Linked DNA regions of Homo sapiens: all the other regions are linked to region 1. Evidence: promoter capture Hi-C in 16 types of primary human blood cells and fetal thymus (Javierre and others, 2016). All regions are on one chromosome and are shown on one strand. The core of a region is centred on a gene start or on the middle of the fragment in contact, and the rest is flanking DNA. Distances in the headings are between cores, read along the strand shown.

Region 1 (3,918 bases), core at 898-3,397:
GCCCTAAAAGAATCTAAATCTTTTCCTAGTGCCTTCAGGATATATATATATATATATATGGTACATACTAGGTCTAGGCCTACACATTCAAAGTTTTACTCTCCATTACCACTGATAATTTTTTGTCTTCTACGTGAATATAATATATATTCCTACATGTGATTCCCCAGTCCTTCTGTACCAAGAATAAATAGAGAAGAATTGGGGGAAGGGGAGCATCAGAGATGGGCTGTATACAAAATCATAAGGAAAATTTAGTGATCTAATATAAAAAGGCAAAGTAAGAGACTGAAAAAAAAATCAAAGAATCAAAATGAAAGAAGAAATCCCGGTTCCAGAGAGCAAGTGGTAAAGCCAGAGTAAGGCTAACTAGAAACCTGGTAATAGAATTAAGTGCCTTCCAAATGTATTTATTTATGTGGAAAATGCTTTAGAAGTTTAATTTCATGTGCGGCCAACCTTGAAAAATGGGTTTCCAGTTGTACAATGTAAAGACACAATCCTGAAGGTTTCTAGAAAGCAACTGTTATTATGAAGAGTATACCTAACATCAATTTTGGACAATCTTTTCGACCTCCTCCAACATCAACCTGGAAGACCAACGATACAAAAGCACTCCACAGGTGTAATACCTGGGAGTTTGGGGATTTCAGGTTGCCTGTTCCTCTTCACTAGGCCTTTCTGCTATAAAAAGTCACATCCAGGAAAGATAATCATTTTTTTTTAAACTATTTGTGCTTTAGTCATAATTATCCTGACAAAACCAGACAGATTTTTAAAACATTACTGCCACAGACTAGCCCATTTTAAATTTGTTCCGACCTCAGATCCCTCCCACTATAGGTTTAGTAACCTTAAATAGAAAAGGAGAACCCTAGAATACAACACTTGTTACAAAAAAAAACTTCAGGAGATCTCAAATGGCCTCCAGCAAACCCTGAGAAAAAGCAGTTATAAAGTTTGTTTCCAAAGGCAACGACCTCTTATCCACTGTAATCTCAGTTAAGAGTGGTTCCTATCACTAAAGTCCCTTCAGCCCTTCAGCTCTGACAAACCACCTTCAAAATGGTCACACAGAAGTGCACTGCACCCTTGTATTCAAGTTCACCTAGACCCTTAATAGAAATGCTGACCTGGGGCACTACTCCACACCTGCTGAATCAGAATCTGCAACGTAGCAGGATCCCCAGGCGACTCCCATGCGTCTTAAGCAGCGCTTACTGATGGCTGCGCCATCAGGGCAAAACTGGAAGTTCCGGGGCTGTCCTAACCCCAGCAGGTCCTTTGCTCAAGAGCCTGGGGAGTCACTGGCTACTGCTGTTTTCCCTTCTTCTGGACCCAACCCGAGCCCCGCTCCGCGCGAGTAAAGCTCTGAAGATGTGTGTCAGGGCGAGACTCCTGGCCTGGCACACGGTCCTCGCCCCACCAGCCCCAGCCCGGGCCGACCTCTCACCTGCTCCTCCAGCGGGAGCGGCTTGAGAGGACTCCGAGCCCCGTGTCGAAACACGACCTGCACCATTTTCAACTTCAGCAGGCTGCGGTCGACCGGACACTGGCCATCGGCCTCCTGCAGCTCGGCCAGGGCCACCCGCCGCTGGTGCAGGCAGTACGCCAGCGAGGTCAGGACGCCCACTGGGGTCCACAAGCGCATGCTGAACACACCAGTGATCATGGTGGTAGGCCCTCGCTGCCCTCCGGGTTGAGGCTGCAGGAGGCAAACACAAGTCTTCTGCGGGCGCCGGGGCTCAGCGGGCGCCCCCAAGTCCGCGGGAACCTGCGGATGCGTACATCCAGCCCTTCAGCAAGCAGGGACCGCTGTGCCTCCCGGCCCTGAGGGAGACCCCGAGTGGGAACGGGGGAGAGAACAAGAGGTGGCAGCAGCGAAGAGTCCCTGGGAGTTTTAACCCGGGTCGGGGTTGGTCGCTCCTGCTGCACACCGGGCCGGGGGAGATCGGATCCTTATCTTTTGCCCGACGAGGAACATTAAACTTGTATTTCAAGTTTGGCCTCCAGCACTCTTGAAGGAACAGGAGCCGGCCCTGAGTTCCCTGGCGGCAGCGGCTCCACCAGCAAGGACTACTCGATTCCACTTTTCTATAAGCAAGCTCCTACCCACCTCCTCACCTACTCAGGGACCCGTCCCAAGTGGACCCGCGCACAGGAGCACGGGAAAACGAGTCCTGTGGTGACACCTCGCCTGGAGACTCAGAGCTGCGGAAACTACAACTCCCACAAGGCTGCGCGTACCGCGGCTCCCAAGAAGTGGCTTGTACCCGCCCCCCTCGCCTGCGGGCCTCGCCCCTCCGGCCCAGCCAGCCGTTTTCCAGGCGTGGATGGCCCACGGACGTGCCTGGTCCGGCAGTGGAGTGGTAGTGAATCTGTCGGGCCATGGAGTTTGCCAGGCAGGAGGATCGCGAGCGCAGGAGTAGAACTGGGTGGTGGAGGGGAGTAGTTTGAGTCTAGTTTTGAATGTAGAAGACTTCCTTCCAGTCCTGGAAGCCTGGTTGCTGCAGCGAGGAGCTGAGACACCTGCCGAGTGATTGCCATTTGCGAAACACAGCACTAGGTGCTTTATATTTAGTCATTTACTACTCCCTTCTCTGTTTTTAAAAAAATTCTCAAGCTTAAGTCATTGTAATCATGTAGAACTTTCAGGTCACTGATGTGTTTACTTCCATCCAGAATACTTCTTGTGGAAAAAGCCAGGCCTTGCCTGTGGGTGTCCCAGTGATTAAGAACCTAAGAGGCGCCATGGCTCACGCCTGTAATCCCAGCACTTTGGGAGGCCGAGGCGGGTAGATCATGAGGTCAGGAGATCGAGACCATCCTGGCTAACACGGTGAAACCACGTCTCTACTAAAAATACAAAAAAAAAAAAAAAAAAAAATTAGCCAGGCGTGGTGGCGGGCACCTGTAGTCCCAGCTACTCAGGAGGCTGAGGCAGGAGAATGGCGTGAACCCGGGAGGCGGAGCTTGCAGTGAGCCGAGATCGCGCCACACGACTCCAGCTTGGGCAACAGCGCAAGACTCCGTCTACAAAAAAAAAACAAAAAAAAACCTAAGAACACAGAACAATGCCAGCCTTACCACCTGCTAGTCTGGTTTCTGTTGATATACAGGTATCCCAAGCCTGTGTTTCCAGATCTTTGCAACAGGACACAATCTGGGACCCACTATGTGTCTATCTCCAAAGATCAAACTGGGCCAGATGTAAAGACAACATACTTACAGAGCATGGCTCCTGGCCTGAGAACAAATTCTGTTCACCAAGCTGGAAGGTTCTGAGTGCTCCCCTCCCTGATGCAGGGAGGAGGGTCATTTTGGAACACTACATATTGTCACAATTTTCTCCCTAGCCCAGCCAAGGGACTCACTTTTCAGAGTCTTATTGTGTGTGCTGATGTGATTAAAAATCGAATACTGTTTGCTATGGACTCAGTTGTGTCCCCCGCCAAATTCGTACCCACTAAGTGACTGCATTTGGACATAGGACTTTTAGAAGGTGATTCTGTCAGAGGCATTTGAACCATAGTGACTCCATCTTGAATAGCGGCTGGGTAAAATGAGGCTGAGACCTACTGGGCTGCATTCCCAGGAGGTTAGGCATTCTCAGTCACAGGATGAGGGGGGAGGTCAGCAGGACTGGTATCACAAGAAACCAGTCAAAAAGACCCTGCTGATAAAACAGGAAGTGGTAAAGAAGCTGGCCAACACCAACCAAATGCAAGATGTTGATGGAAGTGACCTATGGTCAAACTCACTGCTCATTTTACGTTAATTATAATGCATTAGCATGCTAAAAGACACTCCCATCAGCACTATGACAATTTACGAATGTCGGGGCCAGCAGTTACCCTATATGGCCTAAAGTGGGGAGGAACCCTCAGTTCCAGGAAATCCCACTCCTTTCCCAGAAAA
Region 2 (3,574 bases), core at 269-2,768, 410 kb before region 1:
GGTGTGAGCCACCGCGCCCGGCCTATTTTTCATAGTGACGTAGGAAGTAACTCATGTGGAAGAGATCGTTTTATTTTTAGAGTCAGCACAAGACCTTTTTAGATCTGATCCCTCTACCTGTTCACATAGGAACTCGCTCTGAGGTTCAACCATTTTTTTAGATAAGATTCAGAGCCCCAAGACTCTGGTTGTAGGACCTCATGAGTTCTGTACATTGCAATCCTCCCATGAAATGTAATTTTCCAGATATGCACATCCTGTCACATGGATCTAGTATTTATGTTTATCTACTTCTTTTCTTGGATTCAGATTTGCTCCAGGTCTTTCCTGTGTAACATATGCAGGCGACAAGGAGGAAAGAGCCTGCCTTCAGCAAGACCTGAAACAGGAGTCACGTTTTCATGTGCTACTGACTACCTATGAGGTATTCATTCGTTTCTCTATAGCGAGAACTCCTAACCTGTGACCTTAGAAGTTGTAGAGTCTGCTGAAATTATATTTAAGTTTTGTTGAGAGCACACACTTTTCTGGGCAGGGAGTCTACCTTCATCAGATTCTCAAAAGAGGGCTGTAACCAAAAGAAGTGAAGGATCATTGTGCTTCAGATTAGTTCGATCTTTTCCTTTCTTGGTGGATCAAGGGGGAAGGCTTCTCAAGGAAGTGGCACTTGAGCTGCCTCTTGGTTGATGAACAGAAGTCAGGCAGGCAGGCAGGGGAAAGGGTTTTGTGGACTGAGGAATCACGTCTGTTACTGGAGGATAGGAATGGAAGACAGCTCCGGCCTTATTTTAAATCCTTGTTTTTCAGTCTAAGACAGTGTGTGCCACTGACCTTCCACTTAATCAGGCTTTTCTCTTTGTTTTTAAGATGGCGCTACTTAGAAATTATTCTCAGAACTTTTTTTTACTTAGTGAACAAATGAGACTTAGATAAATCCTATAGTTTAAGAGAGTTCACAGAAAACTAGCTTATCAATATCAGAGTTTATCAATGCCAGCCTTTATAACGTGTCTTCCTAATTTTTCAGATTTGCTTGAAAGATGCATCATTTCTAAAATCGTGAGTAGGTTGTACTATTTAAGAACTTGGGTTGAATGTATTATGAATGTCATGTCTTTCCTTCACGTTTTAGTACTTTGCCTCTCCTGGCATGTCTGGTATGTCTTCCATGAGTTCTGTTTATGGGTAGGCGGCATGGTGGGAGTCCTGTGTTTACAGTCCTCTACTCATTAGCTGTGTGTCCTTGGGTTAGTTATTTAATCTCCATGAACTTCAGCTTCTTCATCTGTAAAATGAGGATAATTGTTTCTTACCTCAAATAGCTGTTACGAAAATTAAATGAGATTAAATATACTTTGTATGGTTAATAGATATTAGGCTCTTTACATGCAACTTGCATAGACCCCTTTCAGTACTACCATTTGGAGAGTTTGCTGTAATACAGAAGGAGAACCATTTGAGCTGTTTGCTGGACATAACCTAAAATAGCAATCAGTGCCGTGGAATTAACTTTTTAGAAAGGGAGTTTTAAGTGTACCTCTAATTAGTTAACCTCATATTGGCCCATGAAATCAGAAACTCAGCAATACCACCTAATAATGGGAATGATAGGATCATGTCAAGATAACAGTTACAATGCAGATTAAATAAGGGCTAGAGTTTAGGTAAGAAAGATATGTTGACAGGGTTTCATTCTCTATAACCTCTGTAGTTATTACATGGTTAGGTGGATATTCTGTATTTTAATATTCAAAAATCTTTGTTTTCAAAGTATTTTATCAATATTTTAAATGTTATTTCTTATCCAGGTTCCTGTGAGCTGGATTTCTATTTTCATGTTATTTTGAAATACTAGAGGCTAGGTCATAGATTTCATGACTTCTATCTAGTATTTCATTTAAGTGAGCATATTATCTTATTTTTCTTAAGATATACATTCCCTCTCTTTTTATTATTAATATTCAACTTAATATTTGTTGAAAGTCAGTCACTGGAAAGACATTGTTCTGAGAGTTATTGGCAATATCAGGAAAGTAAATCATAGAGCTTCCCTAAGAAGACAAACTCCAGTGGAGGGATGAGAAGTGTACAGATATCCATAATACATAGCAATATATGGGAAGTCTCAAAAGATAATAAAATTGGGACATAAATGTTGCTGGGTACTTTACATAAATTATCCCATTTAATTTTCATGAAAACCCCACGAGGCAGCTATTATTCATTTTACGGGTGAGGAAAATAAGAGATTTGGTAACCCATCCAAGGTTACATTGCTGATGATAAATAGCAGAGCAGACATTTAAACCCAGCATTTGGTGCTGTGGAGCCTCTTTTTAAGAGAACTTCTCAAAATAGCTAGTTGTACTGGAGTTTTACATTATTCAGCAGAAATAGAATCTTTCTATTTCAGATAATCGGTTTTCAGTGCATTTTCAGGTAGATTTAAAAACCTAAGTAACAGAGGGACATTTATAATGCTGTCCTGTAGTATGAATCCCAACAACATAGATACATTCTTTCAATATATTTGGAAGGTTATATTGCTTATTGCTGTATTGTACATTCTGAGAATAGCAGGGAAGTGTAATATCATCTCTGCCCTAAAGAGATTTATTATGGAGAGTTAAGGCTGTGCATGTTACAAATATGAAAAATTTGAAATGTTTTGGACAATAGACTTGTAAAACTCTTTGGATCAAGAGGATTAGAAGTTACCTCATCCAACTTTCCATTCAGTGCTGGATTTCCCCCATCTTTTCCTCTTCAGGGGACATCATTTAGAGTATCCTTTGATAAGTGATTTGACCCACTTCCTTTCATGAGCCAAAATCCACCACTCTGTAGCCTGTTTCACTGAACAAGCATTTTTTGGACACCTAAATGTCTAGTTCTTCACAAGGGAATAGGACCTAATCTGTTTTGAAAGCTAATTCAGACAGAGCCAGGCACCATCCTAGAGAAACTTCCATACCTTATCTCATGACCACTGTGCAACTTCAACTGGACCTTTGTTTCTTGTCATCCTTAAATGCATCCTCTGCTCATGCCACCCAACCTTCTCCTTCGACTTCCTGCACTCTCTTTGGACCCTCAGTCCTCCCTCTACTCGCTTCTCTCAGTAGGTGAATGGTAATGTCATAGGGACCTCTGTTCCTCTGCCTGTCCTCTGGAGTTTCTCTGTAGCCTCAGGAAGAGGGCCTCCTCCTTGTAAGGTGAACCTCTGCTCAAGATCTTTCTCTAATTTTGGAGGAATTTTCCTTTCCATACCTACTATTTTTCCAGTGTTCTGTTTTACCTGTATATACATTTAGTTTTTTAAATATGAAAATAATGTAATGGGATTCCAGAATGTTTATAATCAAAATAAAAAGTTAAACATCTTATAATTTTCACTTTATTATCTTTTGCATGGCTTTCACATTTGTAAAAGAGGATACATGATATTTATATCTTTTTTATTATTCTATAGGCCTTTTAAATTGCAACATAATCATATTTATTATTTAAAATGCCATGTAATATTTTACTACCTATTATTGGACATTTAGGTTATTTTCCATTTTTTGCTGTT
Region 3 (3,945 bases), core at 268-2,767, 280 kb before region 1:
CACAGAAATTTCATTAGCTATTCTAGGTTTTTCAAATTTCCACATAAATTTTAGTATCAAATTGTCATCTTTTTTTAAAAAAAGAGAAAAACCCTGCTATTATTTTGAATGGTATTATATAGAATCTATAGAACAATTTGGAGATAAGTAACATGTTAATATGGAGTCTTCCTATACATGAACAAATTCCCAGCTTTGTTTTTTTAAAATAGTTTCTGCTATTCTGAGTCTTTTGAGTTTTCACAGAATTTTTAGAATCTGCTTGTTTGTCTCCACACAAAATCTACTGGAATTTTGAATGGCACCAAACCCATAGATCAATTTGGAAAAAATTGCCATCTTAAACAATATTGAGTTTTCCAATCCAAAAACATTGAAAGTTTGTACATTTACTTAGAGTTAAAAAATTATCTCTACAAGGTCTTTTTTTTTCTTTTTTCAACTTTTATTTTAGAATCAGGAAGTACATGTGCAGGTTTGTTATTATACGAAGGTATATTGCATGATGCTGACTCTACAATGTTTTGAAACTTTCCATGTACAAGACTTGCATACCGTCTATTAAATGTATTCCTACATGTGGTATTCTTTTTAATGCTTTTATAAATTCATAATTCCCTTTTCAGATTGTTTATAGCAGGTAGACAGAAATACAACTGATTTTTGTATATTGATCACATATCTTGTGACCTTGCTAAATTCCCTTATTAATTCTAGGATTTGTTTTGTTGTTATTGTTGTTTCTTGCGTAGACTCCCTAGGGTTTTCTACATGGACCACTGTGTCATCTGCACATAGGTATAATTGTTTTTTTTTTCCTTTTGATCCATATGTCTTTTCTTTCCTTTTATTTTCTTTTTGCATGGGCTACAACCTCCCATAGAGGTTAGAATGAATCGAAGAGGTTAGAGTGAACATCCTTGCCTTTTACCCAATCTTAGATGGAAAGTCTTCAGCCTTTTATCATTAAGACTGATGTTTGCCATAGGTTTTTTTGTAGATGGCTTTCACCAGACTGAGAAAGCTATCTTTTATTCCAAGTCTTTTGAGATTTTTTAAAATCATAAATAGGTATTGAATTTTGTCAAATATTTTTCTGCATATATTGAAATTATCATGTGGTTTTTGTCCTATATTATTTTAATATGATGTATTTCATTAATTGTTTTTTGGATGTTAAACAGCGTTGCACTCCTGGGATGCATCTTACCTAGTCATGGTGTATAATTCTTTTTCATATTCTTAGATTTCATTTTCTAATATTTCCATTTATATTCAGAAGAGATGTTGGTCTATAGTTTTCTTTTCTTGTAATATGCTTATCTTACTTTGGTATGAGGATAATATGGCCTCATAGAATGAGTTGGAAACTGTTCCTTCTGCCTCTATTTCCTGGAAGAGCTTGTGGAGCAGCAGTCTTATGTCTTTGTTAAGTGTTTGATGGAATTCACTTGCAAAGTCATGTAAGTCTGAGTTTGTATTTGTGAGAAGGTTTTAACTACAAATTTCTTTACAGATTTTGGATCTATTCAGATGTTTCATTTCTTCTTGAGTTAGTTTTGGTAGTTTATGGGGTTTTTTAAGAATTTGACTATTTCACCTAAGTTGTCTAATTTGTTGGCATAAAGTTCCTCATAATATTCCCTTATGATGCTTTTCATTTAATTTGAAATATTCTTTTTCTTTTCTAATATAGGCATTTAAAGTCATATGAATTTTTCTCTGTGTTGCTTTAGCTGCATCCCATAAATTGTAATATGTGTGGTTTTCATAGTGATACAATTTAAAATACTTTCTAAATTTTTGGTAATTTCTCCTGATTCATTCATAATATAATTCATTCAGAAATATATTGCTTAATTTCCAAATATTTGTGGAGTTTCCAAATTTCATTTTGTTGTTGGTTTCTAATTTAATTCCATTGTGGCTGGGGAACATACTTTGTATTATTTAAATACTTTCATGGAAAGGGACAAAATGGCTGACTAGACACAGCCAGGAAATGCCTCTCCCACAAAGAGAATCCAGGATTTCAAGTAAAACATCATAGTTCAAACAGATCATTTGAGAGAAAACACAAAAAGTTGATAGAGAGGTGACAGAGACACTGAGGGTGAAGAAGGAGGAAGCTAGGCGCCTGCATGGAGTCACTCAGAGTGACAAGACCAGCTCCTGATCCTGAGCAGGTCCTAGGGAAGCAGTGAGTGAAGGAACTCCCAGGCACCACACTCCCGCCACACACCTCTGGGATCCAGACTACAAGAGATCCCATGACCCCCACAGGCATTTGAACTGATAGAGGAAACTGCCTTGAAGCAGAACTGGAACCTGCATGGAGTCCAGAGCTACAGCAAAAATGTGAGCATAGGCTCCCATTCCCCAAGGCTCTCCATTTTGTTCTGTGTGGCTCTAGCCCCTGCTGACTGCCGGGCTGGGAGAGAGCAGAGCTACCTTTCCCGTGGGACAGGGGCACATCTGATACACATGGCCCTTGTACACCAGCTCCTCCCAAGGCCACATGCCTGGCTGCTCCTGCAACAGGGAGCACAGAGCACAGCCTCCAGCCTCCACTGCTCCACCTGAGTATTTTTGCCAATCGCCTGGCAGCAGTTTGGCTCCCCGGAACACAGCCAGTGCTCAACCCCAAGAGGCCAGAGGGCAAAGCCATGGGCCTGGTCCCCAACCCCCAGGGATTGTGCACACTGCCCAGGGGCATCAAGCTGAGATCTGTGACCTGACCTCAAGCAAGGGAAAAGCCTCCACTCTCAGAACACTGAGAAGAGTGAGGCGTGAGTTTGTGGGCATGTGCTGGCGTGGGACTTGAGCATCTCTTCCTATGCAAAGCTGGCCTGGGAAGAGCCTAGCCTGTTGACCAGCTGCAGCTTCTGCCCAAGAGGGCCCCAAGGCTTGGAACACCTGGAACAACCCAGCGATCTGGATGCAGAATGCTTGAGACAAATCTAGCTGGTCAGGCCTCCTCCTGGGGCAAACATCTGAGGGAGGCTCAGTTGGGGGACTGCAAGCTCAGTAGACCCCATAGCCATCTCCTGGGCAAAAATAAAAAACCCAGGCCGTGGACGCCACACCAGCTGCACACTCGTGGCACTACCACCCTGCCCAGGGATCCTCCGCCCATGATCCACTGCATCACCAGGCCAACGCAGACATAGCCCACAACCCTCTCTGGCTCTGCCAAACACAGAGAATCAGCAGGTTCCCTGGAGTGGTGGGTCTCTTGTTGACCCAACCTGTGGATCTGACTGCCCCTAACGGAGGTGGGAGTGCAGGCCACCAGGACCCCCACTGGAACTAAGGAACATAGACACAGTGCTAGTGATTGGAGGGGGGTCCCTCAAGGCCCAGGAGCAGATACCACGAGGGAGACATCTCTTGCCCTCCCCTCTCCCTCTTCCCCTAAGCACTGCTGCTAATGCACATAGCTAACAGCATATCTGCTGGCTCTTACTCTTAAGTGCCATCTACTGGATCATGACATGAATTACACCACCAACCAAAAGTAAATTTGTTGGGCAGGCAAAGCCTGTGAAACCCAGTGCAGGAAACTAGCCACAATTAAGGAATGCCCACAGACCCTTTACCCTTTGAAAGCACCCAGAAATGAAGCCAATCGACTATACACAACATACACCACAGTCAAAACCTCAAGGGGAAAAAAAGAATATAAAAACAAAAAGCCCCACTCAATCAACAGCAACTTTAAAAAGACAAAGAGACACCAGCCCTCTCAGATGAGAAGGAATCAGTGCAAGAACTCCAGCAATTCAAAAAGTCAGAGTGTTTCCTTACCTACAAAGTATCGCCCTAGCTCCCCAACAACGTGTCCTAACCAGACTGACATTTCTGAAATGACAGACATAGAATTTAGAATCTGAATAACAAGGAAGCTCAATGAGATTCAAGAGAAAGTTGAAACCCAAACTAAGA
Region 4 (3,823 bases), core at 632-3,131, 400 kb before region 1:
GGCGAGAGGAGAGTGATGTGTGAAGGCAAGGATGGACAGCAGAGAACAGGCACGTGGGCAGAAATAAACACCCACGTTCCCATCAGTTACATGATTTAAAATTATGGGCCGTGGAGCAAATGTTGTGGAAATGTTTTTGAAAATGTGTGATAAAGTTTCAGTGACTAGAGCTTTTAGCGTCTTGTAACATTCACCTCAACAGTTGAGCACTTACTCATGATCAGTGAAAAGGTGAATATTGAAATTATAGAGATAACAAATAAGCCAGGGGAAAAGTAAGAGCAACTTTTTCTGCATAGACAATAAAGAATGTAGGTTATTACCTGGGAAGTCTGTTTAATATGTAATAAGATTTGTGTGAGATGATGAGAAAAGGCTCTAACATGAGTTGATCTTGAGCCCAATGTTGAACAGCTCCAGACCTTACAATTTAAAAAAGTAGTTCAGACCGGGTGTCTGAGTTCCGCAGTATACCTGGTCCAGTGGACACTTGCAGAATGCCGTTGGCACATGCCACTGGCCATTGAGGGGTCCCCAGATGCATAAACAGCCTGATCCTGTAGCTCCCCTTCCCCACACGGATGCATGGAGGCAGGTGGCGAACTCTAAAGCCTCACTGAAAGGCAGATTGCTGGACTGTTAGAAGGGGCTCACTCACCTGCCTCCAAGCGCTTGTCTTCTGTTTACATAAGAATTACATCTCAGCAAAGTTGAAACTATCACACAGGATAGATGCTCAGGGTTGCTTGAGAATAGTCAAAACTGAGTATTAACTTCATAAGTGCCAAAGACTTCAACTGCATGTATTTAAAAAATCCAGAGGAGTATGTTATGGTGAGTTATTTTGTAAAATGATAATTGTCCCTGTTAATTTAAATTTTTCCCTTTGGGATTTGCTTAAAGTAGGGCTGTGCCTGTATATGGAAAGGGACAAAATTGGCCTTTGGTTTTGGGCTTAATTTTTTATTCCCCAAAGACTACTTGAAAAGGGTTAAGATTTCTGTTTTTCTTCCTCTCTGTAAAGGCTACAGCTATGAGCGTGTGGATGGTTCTGTGAGAGGAGAAGAGAGACACTTGGCCATTAAGAACTTTGGACAGCAGCCCATTTTCGTTTTTCTCCTGAGTACTAGGGCAGGTAGGCTGCAAAGGCATTGATGGAAACAGACAAATGAGGGATAATAGAGTACTATTACATCCCAACGGTTAGTACACTTTTTTCCTTAATTCTCTGAAAGGTGAGGTTACTATTGAATGTAAAACAAGGTACTGGACATCAAGCATGGTGCTGTTTTCTATCCAGCCTGTCCAAACTGTCATCTCAGCAAAGAAGTAAGGCTGAAACCTGGGGTTATTGGAAAGTAATTCTAATCTGCTTTGACCATTGACCTGGGAATGTCCTGAAAGATTTATGTGATTTTGTGGAATGTTTCATTTACATTCAGTGGAAGTAGCTCTTCTTCCCAACCGTGAATTTGGGAAATAAGGTAACAGTTTGTCTACTAGTTGTCCTTCCTCTATAAGTATTTCTGGAATAGTGCTGAAAAGCTTAACAAAAATCTAGTTGTTAAAAAATGTGATTATGTTGAAAATACCAACTTTTTAGAATTATTTATGACATCATCCATATATGATTTAAATCGTGAATATTACGACATTTGTAATGCTTTACCAGTTACAGAGTGCTTTCATTTACTGTTACATAATTTGAAATCAGCTCTTGGAGATGAAATGATTCTCTAAGTCATTGTGGTGTCTGGAAAAAAAAAAAAAAAGGCCGGCACGGTGGCCCATGCCTGTAATCCCAGCACTTTGGGAGGCTGAGGTGGGTGGATCACTGGAGGTGAGGAGTTTGAGACCAGCCTGGCCAACATGGTGAAACCCCGTCTCTACTTAAAAAAATACAAAACTTAGCTGGATGTAGTGGTGCGTGCCTGTAATCCCAACTACTACGGAGGCTGAGGCAGGAGAACCGCTGGAATCCAGGAGGCGGAGGTTGCAGTGAGCCAAGATTGCACCACTACATTCCAGCCTAAGAAATTTTTCTCAGGTCCTGGAGCAAGCTGACCTTAGTTTTCAACTCATAGGATCCTAGTTTCATTATCTTATTTTTGTAGACATAAATCTTGATGGAGTACATGCAGGAACATGAAAGAGATGTGTGTCCTCTATTAAAGACAGATTGACATTTTTCTAAAAAGAGAGTTCAGTCTTATTTAGAAAGCTTTCTAAATGCCTGCTGCTATAAGGGTATATGAAAGAAGTGTTAGATATAATTTTTGATTATAAGGAGATTATTTCACCTGTGTTTGTTTTATCTCCCTAATAAAATTAATAACATAAGATTCATTTGGCCTCACTCTTCCAAGATCATAGACTGCACATGGAGTCTCAGCCATTTTCTCATGTGATCAGTTGCCTCAGGGTTAGTCTCAGGAGAAACTGAAAGAATCAGGCAGTGCATCATCACTGCCGGGAAAACAGTTTTATTTATGCTTTAATGATTTCATCATCCTCATATTCAGAGAGCAGCATTATGTTTGAAATGTCTAAAATTAGGAAAAAAGAGATCTCTGCTTTTCAGTTAATCTCCTTGGAGGACTCAGAGTAGATCTGGGAGCTGAAGCAGTCCTGGACATTAGTCTTCTCCAAACACTGTTGTGTTTGCTGTCACAGTTTTGTTGTAGTTTTGCAGTATTTTCATTTATTTAACAGGTTTCCTTCCAAATTTCAAATATTTCTGTGATGAGTCATGTTGCCACCAGATGGCAGTGATAGCTCATGAATATGTTCCTATTCATGGATGTGGGTGTGGCTTATTTATAAAAATCTCACCCCTCGGTGAAGAGCTGCACTTAGACAACATGAATTCAAGAAGATAATTTTATGGAACACATTTTAAAATGAAATAAGCACCTGAAAAGTATTATAGTATAGTGGATAAAAGCACGGGCTCTGGACCAAGACTGCAAGGGAATGAATCCTGGCTCTTTCACCTTCTAGGCTTGCAACTTCAGAGAAGTCCCTTACCCTCCCTTTCAACATCTATAAAGTGGGGAAAATCGTAGCAACTACTCAACTTCCCGACAGGGTTGTTGTGAGGGTTAAAGGAGTTAATATAGAGAGAGTGCTTAGAATAATGCCTGGCAAGTAGTAAGCACAGCGTAAGTGTCATTATCATTATTATTAGGTATAATTTAGCATCTCTCAGTAATCGGTCATGATTACCTCCTTGTTCCAACTTCAACTTGATACGAAGACTTTAATTAGAATATTCCTGCCTGATTTGTCTGGAGATCCAGCTTATGGTCAGTAGTCCTTCTTAAAAGTTAGTCCTTAATTCAGGTTTATGGAACAAGCCCTTTCAGGCTTGCTTGTTTCAGCAACCAGCTCTAACGACCCTGGCAAGAGGGAGTCTGTTTTGTACTTGTTTTCACATTAATCAAAGAGAAGGCTGCAATGTACCTTCACGGTTCTCTTAATTAATTCCTGTAACTCAAGGTACCTCCTCAGCTCTCTTCCTGCAGCACTGAAGAAAGACCAGCAAGAGTGTTCTGAGCAAGCCTCAGAACACTCAGAGTAAATGACAAGAGTGTTCTTGTCTTGCCGTTGGTTTTGTTACTTTCTTTTTGATTAATGTGGAAACCAGTACAAAAAAGACTCACTGGAGTTTTCTCTAATCAGAGGGAGGAGGTTTCCCACTCTGCTCAGGAGTATAATATCATCCACTCTTCTCATTAACTTTTTATCAGAGATCTTGCTACCTAGTTGTAACTTGCAAGCGACATTCGGCACTCTTCTCTTGACAGTGCGCACTGCAGACCTC
Region 5 (3,648 bases), core at 943-3,442, 500 kb before region 1:
ATGAAATGTCCAGAACAGGCAAATCCTTAAGACAGCAAGACTTGTGGTTGCCAGGGACGGAGGGGAGGAGGGAATGGGATGTGACTGCTAATGGGTACAGGGTTTATTCTGCGGGTGATAAAAATGCTCTGGAATTAGATAGTTGTGATAATCACATAACTCTGAATATACTAAAAATTACTGAGTTGTACAATTTAAGAGTTAATTTTATGATGTATAAATTACATCTCAAAAAAATGAAAAAAAGTATGCAGACAAGAATACAATATACAAAAATGAAGAGAAATATATTATAATATATTTTATTTAAATGTTATTGTTTCTTTTTTGAGAGAGGGTCTTGCTCTGTGTCACCGAGTCTGGAGTGCAGTGGCTTGATCACGGCTCACTACAGCCTTGACCTCCTGGGCTCAAGTGATCCTCCCACCTCAGCCTTCAGAGTAGTTGGTACTAAAGGCACATGCTACCATGCCCAGCTAATTTTTTGATTTTTTTTGTAGAGACAGGGTCTCACTATGTTGCCCAGGCTGGTCTCAAACTCCTGGACTCAAGTGATCCTCCCACTTCGGCCTCCCAAAGTGCTAGGATTACAGGTGTGAGCCACCAAATTCATTGTAAGAACTAAGTTCCAGTGTTCCGTTGCACAGTAGAGTGAATATAGGTAACAATAATGTAACAAAATAAAATAGCTAGAAGAAAGGATTTTGAATGTTATCACCACGAAGAAACGACAAATGTTTGAGATGAATATGCTAATTGCCCTGACTCGATCATTACACATATAAAATGTATTGAAACATCACATTGTATCTCATAAATATGTACAATTGTTATGTGTCAATTAAAAATAAAAAATACATATAAGGCAAAAGAAAAAAGCAGAAGTAATACTCTGATATTAAATAATATCTTTAAAACATATGGAACTTGAAACCTTACAAAGTATTATGCTTTGTTATTTCGTCACATGATCCACAAAATACCCTTGGGAAGTGCACAGAATAGTTTTTATTGCCTTTTCACCAGAAAAAAATAAATACAAATTGGTTATTTGCCTAAAGTTACATACATGGATAGACAGTAAATGAGTGCAGACTAAAATCCATTATCTGTAGATTCCTAGTAAAAAATGGATTATAAGCGTTACCTCAATAGATTGGGAAATTAGGAGAAAGGGAAATATCAAAAGTATGCAAGTCTTCTCTCTATATAATTATGATACATGTCTATTTATTGGTTACTTTGCCAGAATTATATAATGCAAAAATTAGTCACAAGTATCCTCATAATCTAATTCAGCATTTTAAAACCCTTTTAAATTACTGTCCCACCAGTCAAAAATAATGCCCAATTTAACCTTCTGAGCTTATATGATGAAAACAACATTTTCAAAAGTTTCCTCAACAGATGATTACACTATTAATAATAGTCTCGCTCTGTCGCCCAGGCTGGAGTGCAGTGGCGAGATCTCAGCTCACTGCAAGCTCCGCCTCCCGGGTTCACGTCATTCTCCTGCCTCAGCCTCCCGAGTAGCTGGGACTACAGGCGCCTGCCACCACACCCAGCTAATTTTTCGTATTTTTTAGTAGAGATGAGGTTTCACCGTGTTAGCCAGGATGGTCTTGATCTCCTGACCTCGTCATCCACCCGCCTCGGTCTCCCAAAGTGCTGGGATTACAGGCCTGAGCCAGTGTGCCCAGCCAATAATTTCTTTTAAAAACAGCAAAGCCACCCTTCTCCCCTGAAATTCAAATATGTTCCACTTAAGGTATTGTGCCTCCTCAGCTGAGAATCACTGAAAGTTTAAGTCCCTGGTTTTACTGTGAAGAAACTCAGAACGAAAAAGGTTGAGAGATTTGTTCATGATGGCAAAACTAGTTAGTAGCAGAGGCAGGCTTTGAACTCACAGGAGAGAAGTGTGCTCACTGGGAATACTGTGCACAATTCTTTAGATAGTTCTTATTGTAAAGTAACAAAATGGTAACTACAAGTGTGGTTAGCAAAATATTCTCTGATACTATAGCAATTGTAAGCAGAGATGAAGGCCTTGGCTCAAATAATATTAGAGGAAATAAAAGTGTAAAGATATTTTCCGCTACCATAGACTTTTTTTTTTTTAACCAAAAATTTACAAAATTTCAATTACCTACAACAGAATTGTCAGGGGGCAGGGGGGTGGTTGTCTTGTTTTTGAGGCAGTATCTCACTCTGCTGCCCAGGCTGGAGTGAGGAGGCTCAAACATGCTTCACAGCAGCCTCGACCTCCTGGGCTCAAGCAATCCTCACGCCTCAGCCTCCCAAATTGTTGGGACCACAGGCATGTGCCATTACGCTCGGCTAATTTTTAAAAATTTTTTGTAGAGATGGGTCTTGCCATATTGCCCAGGCTGTTGGTTTTTTAAACCATTTTTTTCCCCACATTTTTTGGACCTCATAAAATCATGAAACTGCTAACTGAGGTCTCAAACTGGCAGGATTAAGATGGGGCAAACCAAACAAACTACACACATGTATCGCCTCTGCTGGGTAATATCATCAAAGGTCAGTGGAAAACTTGAAATATTACTAGAAACAGCTTTTCAAACTATAGGCTGTAGCCCATTAGTGATTATAAAAGATAACATGGAAAATAGAGTGTATCCCATGTAATAAGGTAAACATTGTATCATGAGACTTGTGTTACAATGTGTGTGTTTGTGTTTGCTGCAAATAAGAGACCTAAATGTTTACAGGAGAAAAATCTCTGTCTCTCTCTCTCCTCCCCCCAACCCCCTGCTCTCTCTCTCCCTCTATATGTATATACACACATAAACAACTTTTAGGAAGGAACTACAAGAAAGACACAGCAAGAGAGAGTAAATAATACAAAATTACCTCTACAAGATGTCTCAGAACTTTCCATAGAATCTAACTTTAAAGCATCGAACACCTCAAAATCAGATTTCTTGACATGGATCAAATTGTTAATTGTGCCAAGCTGACTGGTAACCACAGGCTGAAACAGTGAATAGAAAAAATTATTGAATCTCTCTTTCAAATCCATCTCTTCCATCCAACCTTCCTCTTTTACTAAAATTTACACGATTGTTCTCAGCACCTCCACGTTTTATCAAGAGAGAAATCCTCCAGTGTAGGGGAGCAGCTGCCCATCAGTCTTGACAGAAATGACAGCTAAAATGAGACTGCTAAGTCAATGGTTACCCTTGGAGATCAAGGCCTTACCTCTGATGGATCATGAACCCACTGTCCATCCACAAAGAACTTGTATTGGTGCTCTCCCTCAGGGAGGTCCAGGATGGCAACAAAGTCATTATGGCTACAGAAGAAAAAAGAAAGGCAAACAGGCCAAGTTCCTTTTAGAAGACTGAATCTAAAAAACAAGTGGCAATCATAGTATCATATGAATAATTTCCCAGATTCCTAAGCCATTGTATCCCCTGGTGTAAAAAACAACGTATAAACCCATTCTCCTTTTCTGTATCATCTTGGACATGTATTTACCAGCTCCTCCCAACAACGTTAGTTCTTAACCAATATCTGGAAAAGAATAATAAAAACATTAATCCCCTCAAATGGTTCACCTTAGTATAACTTACTTTGCTTCAGTAGAACAAGTTCCTCACCAGTGCAAATAAGATAGGTAGGTTT
Region 6 (3,609 bases), core at 297-2,796, 370 kb before region 1:
GCGGTTTTGCCACAAAGGATTCATTTTAAAAACATTTTTGGAGGAACTGTTTAAATAAGAGAAATAGAACCAGCAGATGTTGGCCTGGACCACTTTACTACCTTGCTAACATGTCTCACTCCTTCACCCCACTTTAGGAACTTAGTGTAGCTCAGAATCTTTTTATTATTCACACACATTTGAATAAATTCTCGGCTAAATATAAAATTTGTTTCAAAGTAATTTTCCAGCAATCCTGAGCAAAAAGAACAAAACTGGAGACATCACATAACCTGACTTCAAAATATGTTACAAAGCTATAGTAACCAAAACATCATGGTATTAGTATAAAAATAAACACATAGACCAATGGAACAGAATAGAGGATCCAGAAATAAAGCCATGTATTTGCAGCCAGCTGATCTTCAACAAAGCCAACAAGATCTTACACTGGGGAAAAAAGACTATCTTCAACAAATAGTGCTGGGAAAATTGGATGGCCACATGCAGAAGAATGAAACTGGACCCCTTACCTCTCACCATACACCAAGTAAATTCAAAGTGCATTAAAGACTTTAAATATAAGACCCAAAACTATAAAAATACTAGAAGCAAATCTAGGGAAAACTCTCTTGGATATTGTTCTAGGCAAAGAATGTATGACTTAAGACCTCAAAAGCACAGGGAACAAAACCAAAAACAGAAAAATGGGACTTAATTAAACTAAAAAGCTTCTCTACAGCAGAATAAATGAGTGAAGAGACAACCTATTAAATGGGAGAAAATATTTGCAAGCCATTCATTTGACAGGTGACTAATATCCAGAATACACAAGGAACTCAAACAACTCAACAGTTAACAACAAAAGAATAAAAAAGTGGACAAAGGACATAATAGACAACTCTCAAAAGAAGACATACAAATGGCCAAGAGGTAAAAGAAAAATGCTTAACACCACTAATCATCAGGTAAATGCAAATCAAAACCACAATGAGATAATATCTTACCCTAGTCAGAATGGCTACCATTAAAAAGACAAAAAAAAATGCTGGCAAGAATGCAGAGAAAAGGGAACTCTTATTCACTGTGGGTGGGAATGTAAACTAGTACAACCACTATGGAAAACAGCATGGAGATTTCTCAAAAAACTCAAATAGAATTACCATTTAATCTAGCAGTCCCACCACTAGGTATCTACTAAAGGAAAATGAAGCAATATATCAAAGGAAAACCTGCATTCACTTGTTTATTACAGCAGTATTCATAGTAAGGCTTGTGCCTCTCTGGGATGAAGCTTTGAGAGAAAGAAACAGGTAGCAATATTTGCTGTTCTGCAGGCTCTGCAGGCTCTGCAGACCCAGGCAAACAGGGTCTGGAGTGGACCTCCAGCAAACTCCAGCAGACCTGCAGAAGAGGGGCCTGACTGTTAGAAGGAAAACTAATAGAAAGCAATAATATCAACATCAACAAAAAGGATGTCCATGCAAAAACCCCATCCAAAGGTCCTCAGCATCAAACATCAAAGGTACATAAATCCATGAAGATAAGGAAAAACCAGTGCAGAAATGCTGAAAATTCCAAAAACCACAATGCCTCTTCTCTTTGAAAGGATCACAACTCCTCACCAGCAAGGGACCAAAACTGGATGGAGAATGAGTTTGATGAATTGACAGAAGTAGGCTTCAGAAGGTGGGTAATAACACTCCTCTGAGCTAAAGGAGCATGTTCTAACCCAATGCAAGGAAGCTAAGAAACCTTGATAAAAGGTTATAGGAAATGCTAACGAGAATAACCGGTTTAGAAAAGAACATGAATGACCCAATGAAACTGAAAAACACAGCATGAGAATTTCATGAAGCATACACAAGTATCAGTAGCCAAATTGGTCAAGCGGAAGAAAGGATATCAGAGATTGAAGATCAACTTAGTGAAATAAAGCGTGAAAACAAGATTAGAGAAAAAATGAAAAGGAATGAACAAAGCCTCCCAAGACATATGAGACTATGTGAAAAGACCAAACCTACGATTGATTGGTGTACCTGAAAGTGATGGAGAATGGAACCAAGTTGGAAAACACACTTCAGGATATTATCCAGGAGAACTTCCCCAAATTAGTGAGACAGGGCAACATTCAAATTCAGGAAATACAGACAACACCACTAAGATACTCCTTGAGAAGAGCAACCCCAAGACACATAATTGTGAGATTCACCAAGACTGAAATGAAGGAAATAATGTTAAGGGCAGCCAGAGAGAAAGGTCAGGTTACCCATAAAGGGAAGCCCATCAGACTTAACAGTGGATCTCTCTGCGGAAACGCCACAAGCCAGAAGAGAGTGGGGGCCAATATTCAACATTCTTAAAGAAAATAACTTTCAACCCAGAATTTTATATCGAGACAAACTAAGCTTGATCAGTGAAGGAGAAATAAAATCCTTTCCAGACAAGCAAATGCTGAGGGATTTTGTCACCACCAGTCCTGCCTTACAGGAATTCCTGAAGGAAGCACTAAATATGGAAAGGAAAAAATCAGTACCAGCTACTGCAAAAACATGCCAAAATATAAAGACCAATAACACTATGAAGAAACTGCATCAACTAATGTGCAAAATAACCAGCTAACATCATGACAACAGGATCAGATTCACACATAACAATATTAACAATAAACGTAAATGGGCTAAATGCCCCAATTGAAAGACGCAGACTGGCAAATTGGATAGAGTCAAGACCCATCGGTGTGCTGTATTCAGGAGACCCATTTCATATGCAAAGACACACATGGGCTCAAAATAAAGGGATGAAGGAATATTTACCAAGCAAATGGAAAGCAAAAGAAGCAGGGTTTGCAATCCTAGTCTCTGATAAAACAGACTTTAAGTCCAGGACCAGATGGATTCACAGCCGAATTCTACCAGAGGTACAAGAAGGAGCTGGTACCATTCCTTCTGAAACTATTCCAATCAATAGAAAAAGAGGGAATCCTCCCTAACTCATTTTATGAGGCCAGCATCATCCTGATACCAAAGCCTGGCACAGACACAACCAAAAAAGAGAATTTTAGACCAATATCCTTGATGAACATTGGTGCAAAAATCCTCAATAAAATACTGGCAAACCAAATCCAGCAGCACATCAAAAAGCTTATCCACCATGATCAAGTGGGCTTCATCCCTGGGATGCAAGGCTGGTTCAACATATGCAAATCAGTAAAAGTAATCCAGCATATAAACAGAGCCAAAGACAAAAACCACATGATTATCTCAATAGATGCAGAAAAGGCCTTTGACAAAATTCAACAACGCTTCATGCTAAAAACTCAATAAATTAGGTATTGATGGGACGTATCTCAAAATAATAAGAGCTATCTATGACAAACCCACAGCCAATATCATACTGAATGGGCAAAAACTGGAAGCATTCCCTTTGAAAACTGGCACAAGACAGGGATGCCCTCTCTCACCACTCCCATTCAACATAGTGTTGGAAGTTCTGGCCAGGGCAATTAGGCAGGAGAGGGAAATAAAGGGTATTCAATTAGGAAAAGAGGAAGTCAAATTGTCCCTGTTTGCACATGACATGATTGTATATCTAGAAAACCCCATTGTCTCAGCCCAAAATCTCCTTAAG

What was found. Contacts are between HindIII fragments. The CHiCAGO score rates a contact against its expected background, and 5 or more counts as called.
Region 2: a contact is called between a fragment that was not itself captured here and the fragment with the promoter of ACP6 in region 1, in 1 of 17 cell types (neutrophils). The highest score is 5.6, in neutrophils.
Region 3: a fragment that was not itself captured here is called in contact with the fragment with the promoter of ACP6 in region 1 in 1 of 17 cell types (fetal thymus); the score reaches 5.6 in fetal thymus.
Region 4: a contact is called between a fragment that was not itself captured here and the fragment with the promoter of ACP6 in region 1, in 5 of 17 cell types (fetal thymus, erythroblasts, naive CD4 T cells and 2 more). The highest score is 8.8, in fetal thymus.
Region 5: a fragment that was not itself captured here is called in contact with the fragment with the promoter of ACP6 in region 1 in 1 of 17 cell types (neutrophils); the score reaches 5.2 in neutrophils.
Region 6: a fragment that was not itself captured here is called in contact with the fragment with the promoter of ACP6 in region 1 in 1 of 17 cell types (erythroblasts); the score reaches 6.5 in erythroblasts.

Annotation. Positions count from the first base shown.
Region 1 is chr1:147,668,377-147,672,294 of GRCh38, forward strand. ACP6 (acid phosphatase 6, lysophosphatidic) reads right to left here and starts at 2,148. Exons shown (of 10, transcript NM_016361.5): 1 at 1,454-2,148. The coding sequence starts at 1,672. RefSeq lists enhancers at 996-1,939, 1,151-1,210, 1,851-2,100, 2,541-2,610. The HindIII fragment of the contact is 4,251 bases long and covers 1-2,621 here.
Region 2 is chr1:147,255,504-147,259,077 of GRCh38, forward strand. It overlaps CHD1L (chromodomain helicase DNA binding protein 1 like), which reads left to right. Exons shown (of 23, transcript NM_004284.6): 4 at 310-424; 5 at 1,028-1,059. Among named protein-coding and RNA genes, the nearest start is that of CHD1L, 15 kb to the left of the region's middle. The HindIII fragment of the contact is 5,587 bases long and covers 1-3,574 here.
Region 3 is chr1:147,386,643-147,390,587 of GRCh38, forward strand. The region is part of intron 3 of LINC00624 (long intergenic non-protein coding RNA 624); the gene reads right to left. Among named protein-coding and RNA genes, the nearest start is that of LINC00624, 130 kb to the right of the region's middle. The HindIII fragment of the contact is 8,136 bases long and covers 1-3,945 here.
Region 4 is chr1:147,271,147-147,274,969 of GRCh38, forward strand. CHD1L (chromodomain helicase DNA binding protein 1 like) reads left to right here. Exons shown (of 23, transcript NM_004284.6): 12 at 1,025-1,135. Among named protein-coding and RNA genes, the nearest start is that of CHD1L, 30 kb to the left of the region's middle. The HindIII fragment of the contact is 676 bases long and covers 1,544-2,219 here.
Region 5 is chr1:147,163,624-147,167,271 of GRCh38, forward strand. PRKAB2 (protein kinase AMP-activated non-catalytic subunit beta 2) reads right to left here. Exons shown (of 8, transcript NM_005399.5): 4 at 3,223-3,316; 5 at 2,875-2,995. Among named protein-coding and RNA genes, the nearest start is that of PRKAB2, 7.0 kb to the right of the region's middle. The HindIII fragment of the contact is 7,359 bases long and covers 1-3,648 here.
Region 6 is chr1:147,303,338-147,306,946 of GRCh38, forward strand. No RefSeq gene overlaps it. Among named protein-coding and RNA genes, the nearest start is that of CHD1L, 62 kb to the left of the region's middle. The HindIII fragment of the contact is 1,677 bases long and covers 709-2,385 here.